2 separate regions of the Homo sapiens genome follow, and region 1 is linked to region 2. The links are contacts of gene promoters, found by promoter capture Hi-C in human tissues and cell types (Jung and others, 2019). All regions are on one chromosome and are shown on one strand. The core of a region is centred on a gene start or on the middle of the fragment in contact, and the rest is flanking DNA. Distances in the headings are between cores, read along the strand shown.

Region 1 (2,829 bases), core at 135-2,634, 88 kb before region 2:
CCAGGAGTTTGAGGCTGCAGTGAGCTACATTCATATCACTCATTCCAGCCTGGGTGACAGGATGAGACCCTATCTCTTAAAAAATAATAATAATTGGCCAGGCGCGGTGGCTCACGCCTGTAATCCCAACACTTTGGGAGGCCGAGGTGGGCAGATCACCTGAGGTCAGGGGTTCAAGACAAGCCTGGCTAACATGGTGAAACCCCATCTCTACTAAAAATACAAAAAAGTAGCCAGTTGTGGTGGCACGTGCCTGTAATCCCAGGTACTCGGGGGGCTAAAACAGGAGAATCACTTGAACCGGGAGGCGGAAACTGTGGTGAGCAGAGATCACGCCACTGCACTCCAGGCTAGGTGACAGAGTGAGACTCCATCTCAAAAAATAATAATAATAATAACAACAACTTAAAAAAATAAAATTAGTCTGGGTACAGTGGCTCATACCTGTAATCTCAACACTTTGGGAGGCTGATGCAGGTGGATCACTTAAGCCCAAGAGTTTGAGACCACCCTGAGCAATATAGTGAGATCCCATCTCTATTCTAAAAAACCGATTAATTAATTTAAAAAGAGTGAAAACATCACCCACAGAATAGCAGAAAATATCTGCAGATCATACATCTGATAAAGGATTAATACATGGAACATATAAAGTACTTGTATAACTCGACAACAACAAAAATAACCCAATTCATAAATGGGCAAAGGCCTTAGACATTTCTCTGAAGATTTACAAATGGCCAAAAAATATGCAAAAAGATGCTCAACTTCATTAGTCATTAGGGAAATGCAAATCAAAGCCACAATGAGAAACTACTTCACATCCAAGTTATAAAAAAAAAAAAAAAATAGAAAATAAGTGTTGGCAAGGATATGAAGAAATTGTAACACTTGTGCACTGCTGGTGAGAATGTAAAGAAGACAGTATGGCAATTCCTCAAAAAGTTAAACATAGAATTACCATATGATTCAACAATTCCACTTTTAGGTCTATACCCAAAAGAACTGAAAGGAGGAATCCAAAACAGATATTTATACACCAATGTTCACAGCATTATTCACAATAACCAAATGGTGTCTACGACCCATGTCCATCAACAGATAAATGGATAAAGATATGCGGTATATACATACAGTGAAATATTATTCAGCCTTAAAAAGGAATGAAATTCTGATGCATGTCACAACATGGATGAATCTTGAAAACATTTTGCTAAGTGAAATAAGCCAGGCACAAAAGGGAAAAAATTATATAATTATAATTCCACTTACATAAAATAAAACAGGGCTGGGCACAGTTGCTTAAGCCTGTAATTCCAGCATTTTGGGAGGCTGAGGCAGGTGGATCACTTGAGGTCAGGAGTTCGAGATCAACCTGGCCAACATGGTGAAACCCCATCTTTACCAAAAATACAAAAATTAGCCGGCCGTGGTGGCGGGCACCTGTAATCCCAGCTACTTGAGAGGCTGAGGCAGGAGAATCACTTAAACCTGGGAGGCGGAGGCTGCAGTGAGCCAAGACTGGGCCACTGCACTCCAGCCTCGGTGACAGAGTGAGACTGAGTCTCAAAAATAAAATAAAATAAAATAGGCGAATTCATTGAGACAAAAAGATTATTAAGAACGTACAAGGGGCTGGGGGAGGTGAGAATGGGGTGTTACTATATAATGGGGAGAGTTCCTATTTGGGATGATGAAAGTAGTTCTCAAAACATCATTGTGAATGTATTTAATGCCACTGCATCATACCCTTCAAAATAGTTAAAATTCTACATTTTCTCATGTATATTTACTACAATTTAAAAATTTCATTTACAATAGCATCAAAAAAATCAAATGTCTTGGGTCAAATTTAACAAAACGTGAAAGAATTCTACATTAAAAACAATGAAATAATGTAGCAAGATAGTAAAGAAGGCATAAATCAAGAAATATGCCTCACACAGCACATGGATTAGAAGGCTCAATATAGTTAAGATGTCAATTCTCCCCAAATGAATCTATAAATTCAGTGGAATCTCAACCATAATGGCAGGAGACTTTTTTACAGAAATTGACAAGCTAATTCTAAAATTTATATGGTAATAAAAAGAAACTGTAATATTCAAATAAATCTTGATAAACAATAAAGTTGGGTTATTTACACTGCCTCATGTCAAGACTTCCTATAAAGCTACAGTAGTGGGGTACTGGCATATGGATAAACAAATAGATCAATGGAACAGAACACAGATTTCACAAACAGGCCCATATCTACAGAGTCAATTGTTTTTGGGATTTTTGCCAGCGACAAATCAGGATATAACAGTCAATTGTTTTTCGACAAAAGTACCAAAGCAAACCAATGGGGAGAGAAAATTTTGGTAGTTTTAAACTATGTCAAATTTTTTTACATTCTTCCCTCTAAAAAGTGAAATCCTCCTCTCTCCTTGAGTACAGGCTAGACTTAGGGACTCATTCTAATGAAAAGAATATGGCAGAAGTGACAGTGTATGACTAGGTCATAAGAGGCTTCATGGTTTCTTCCTTACTTTGTCTTAGATCATTTCTGTAGGAGATAACTGCACGCCATGAGGAAACTCAAAGAGCCCTGTGTATAACTTGTTAGCTTTAAAGTAGGGAAAATTTAAAAACAAACAAACAAAAGCCCTGGGTAGAGATAAACAATATGGAACTGAGGCTTCCTGCAAAGAGCTTTATGAATAAGTCATCTTGAAAACAGATCCTCTAAGCCAAGCATGGTGGCTCAGGCCTATAATCCCAACACTTTGGGAGGCCAACAGGGAAAGATCACTTGAGCCCAGGAGTTCAAAACCAGCCTGGGCAACA
Region 2 (3,276 bases), core at 420-2,919:
AAAAATACAAAAAAAAAAAAATAGTCAAGCATGGTGGCAGGCGCCTGTAGTCCCAGCTACTTGGGAGGCTAAGATGGGAGAATCACCTTAGCCCAGGAGGTAGAGGCTGCAGTGAGCCGAGATGGCACCACTGCACTGCAGCCTGTGTAACAGAGTGAGACCCTGTCTCAAAATAAAATAAAATAAAGATCTTTGCAGTAAGCTAAAGTACTTTTTAATATACAAAAAAAGAAATAAATGCTGTTTCAAGGGATACATGTAAAACACAAGGACACAGAAAAGTTTAAAGTAAAAGGATAGGCCCTAGCACTTTGAGAGGCCAAGGTGGGTGGATCACCTGAAGTCAGGAGTTCGAGACCAGCCTGGCCAACATGGAGAAACCCTGTCTATGAAAAACACAAAAATTAGCTGGGCGTGGTGGCGCACGCCTGTAATGTCAGCTACTTGGGAGGCTGAGGAAGGAGAATCACTTGAACTCAGGAGGTGGAGGTTGCAGTGAGCCGAGATCACGCCACTGCACTCCAGCCTACACGACAGGAGCGAGACTCCATCTCAAAAATAAAATAAAATAAAAATAAATAAATAAAGTAAAAGGATAGAAGAAAATAGAGTAGGCAAACAGAAAATAGAGTACGCTTAGAGGCGAGCTTAATTTCTAGTCTAACCAAACAGCAGTGGCTCCCTCAGCATGGGGCTCAGGCTGTCAGCAACACAGGCCTAAACAAAGCTTTGCAAGTAAGCCAGCAGCCATCAGTGTCATGCCTGCCTTTCTGCTTCCTAGGGCCTTTAGCCCCACAAGACCCTGTGATTATTATCACCCACCATTCCCAGGGGTAACGCTGCCTTATCTCTTTTGCTAGGAGGTCCAAACCGGCCTGTCCACATCTGCTAGGGGAATCTTTCCCCACTAGCTGTACACTCAACAGAATGGCCCTACACGGTCAGCAGGACCCCTGGATAGGGGAGCATCTCCTTGCCTTCCCCATGTTAAACGGGTTTGCTGACATGGCGAATACATTGGGGTGTCTGGACAGTGAGATGACTCTGGGTAGAATAATTCCAAACCATCAAGTAAGGCACAGCAAACTCTCTTGGGTAGCCAGAAGCCTAGCAGGTTTCTATCTGGAAGAAATAAAAGGACTTGTTGATGTGGTGAAAGCTCACCCTTGCCCAGGCTAACGGTTTTGAAATCACATCTGTTTGTATAGGTGATCAAGGAAGCATCTATCTTCACTGAGCCATCTTAGTCCCCCTCAGGCTTAGCTCAGCTATCACCTCTACCAGAAAGCCTGTCCTGACCCACTTCTGCCCAGGTTGGGAAGCTCCCGTGGGGCCTCGTCTAGGAGGAAGGTTCTCATCACTTGTCTGGATTCCGGGGTTGGACCGCCTGGAGGCCCAACACCTCAAGGCCCTGAAGCGGTACCCGGGCAAACACCGGGCCCCAACACTGCAGTCACTCACCACTGCAAGTGGAAGGTGTGGCCGCAGTGGATGGCGGCCACGTCGCGGGAGTGATCGAAGAAGTCGGAGCAGATAGTGCACAGAGCACGGATAGGCATGATGGCTGGACTCAAGGGGCCCAGGCAGCCAAAGAAACTGCTACAGGTCCGGCTTCGTAGACGCGCCCCCGCGCCTCCGCTTGCTTCAAATTTGGCTCCGCAGCACGACTTCCTGGAGCGGGCCGGAAGTGACAACACAAAACTTTGGGCGGAGCGTGAATACTTCGCCTGGATTGGACAAATTCTCGGATGGGCGGAACTATGGGCGGGGCTTAGCGGCCCCGAGGCCGTAGAGAATCCTGGGCGGAGCGCGGTCGCTCTCAGGCGTCCTCTGGGGAGACTCGACCTGCCACTTGAGAGCGCAGCATTATATCAAGGCGGGGAGCAGCGAGGCTGCCAGCTGGACCCTTTTCCAGGGCAAGGCAGCGCATTGTGGTCCCATGCCAGAGCTGGCGCGAGGCAGGCTGGGCCAAGGCAGAGAAAACCGCAGCCGCAAGGGAATAGAACAATGGTCCCGATGGGTCCCTTGGGCTCTGGACAGTGATGGACCATGCGCTATGGTCTGTAGTTCCCATAGACCACAATACCCTACCCTCTCAGTCCTCAGTTCCGGGCGATTCTAGAAAGATGGACACATAGGCCCCAGTCCCTCAGGTCACCCCAGGCCAACCTTGGCTTCATCCAAGTAAGATATGACTATCCTTGAGTTTGGAGACACTAGGGCCAGTACCCTGACTTTAGCTCTTAGCTCTCAGGAGGATCAGTTATGCTTGAGACTGTAGTAGGGTTGGAATTTTGGAGGCCCAGATGCTTCAAAGACTAGAGACTAACAAATCCTTTTTATTATTCCCACATCAGAGAAGTTATCTTTGAGGAGGTTATCTTTGAGGTCCTCCCAGAGAGCAGCATCCCTGGTGAGTTCACCCAGGCCCACCTGGGCTGGAGTAAGTCAACTTTTGGGTTTTTAGGCTTAGTATCTGTGGCAGTGTTACTCCCTCTACCCAGAAGAAACCCTGTGCATAGTCCCATAATATAAAGCTGATCTGCTCCAGCTGAAATAGACCCAGAGTGAGATTTCATTTGGGGCATAGGTGGAAAGCACAGGTGTTCACAGAAAGAAGGAATCAACACAGAGCAGCATAGAATCTTTGTGCATTGCTCACCCTACACCCTCTCCCTAGCTCAGGGAAGCTATCTTTGGCTATGAGCAGGGTCTGTCCTTGCGGTGGCTGGCCCAGGTAGATTCCAGCTCTATGCCTAAATCAAGAGTAAGGCTCCTCGGTCAACAGGAGTCAAAAACAGCAGCCCTTACTTGAGCTCTCAGCCCAGGGAGTATTCCTTGGTCCAAATGCAGCCCAAGACCCACTACTCACATGGATTTCTAGAGTTCAGAGGACCCCCACCACCACCACCATTGAGGAATACACTGTGGTGAGGATGATCTTCACCCTCAGCCCAAGAAATCCACAGGGCACTGTTCACTACTACTCCCAGCCACTACTTGTGAACCTGCTCCCAGCCTCTCCCTTCCCCACTGCCTTCCAGGGGCTCCTCCCCAGTAGGACAGAGGAAGCAAAGGCGAGAGGGTGGCCAGAGGCTTTGCAGGGTGATGTTTATTTGCCAGGTTCAGTAGGCACACAGTTAACCCACCGACCTTCACACACCAGAGCAGACCCACAGGCATGCAGGGAGAAGGGCAGGACCACCACGGAGTGCCGAGCAAGGGCGAGGACCAATGTGGCTGCCTATCCAGGCTGTGGTAGGGTCTGACAAAGGG

What was found. Contacts are between HindIII fragments. The study calls those that stand out against the background at their distance.
Region 1: a contact is called between a fragment that was not itself captured here and the fragment with the promoter of TRAIP in region 2, in 14 of the 25 tissues and cell types used here (H1 embryonic stem cells, IMR-90 fibroblasts, adrenal gland and 11 more).

What each region holds. Positions count from the first base shown.
Region 1 is chr3:49,767,202-49,770,030 of GRCh38, forward strand. The region is part of intron 1 of IP6K1 (inositol hexakisphosphate kinase 1); the gene reads right to left. Among named protein-coding and RNA genes, the nearest start is that of IP6K1, 18 kb to the right of the region's middle. The HindIII fragment of the contact is 9,567 bases long and covers 1-2,829 here.
Region 2 is chr3:49,854,895-49,858,170 of GRCh38, forward strand. TRAIP (TRAF interacting protein) reads right to left here and starts at 1,670. Exons shown (of 15, transcript NM_005879.3): 1 at 1,462-1,670. The coding sequence starts at 1,559. CAMKV (CaM kinase like vesicle associated) reads right to left here. Exons shown (of 11, transcript NM_024046.5): 11 at 3,095-3,276. The HindIII fragment of the contact is 12,385 bases long and covers 1-3,276 here.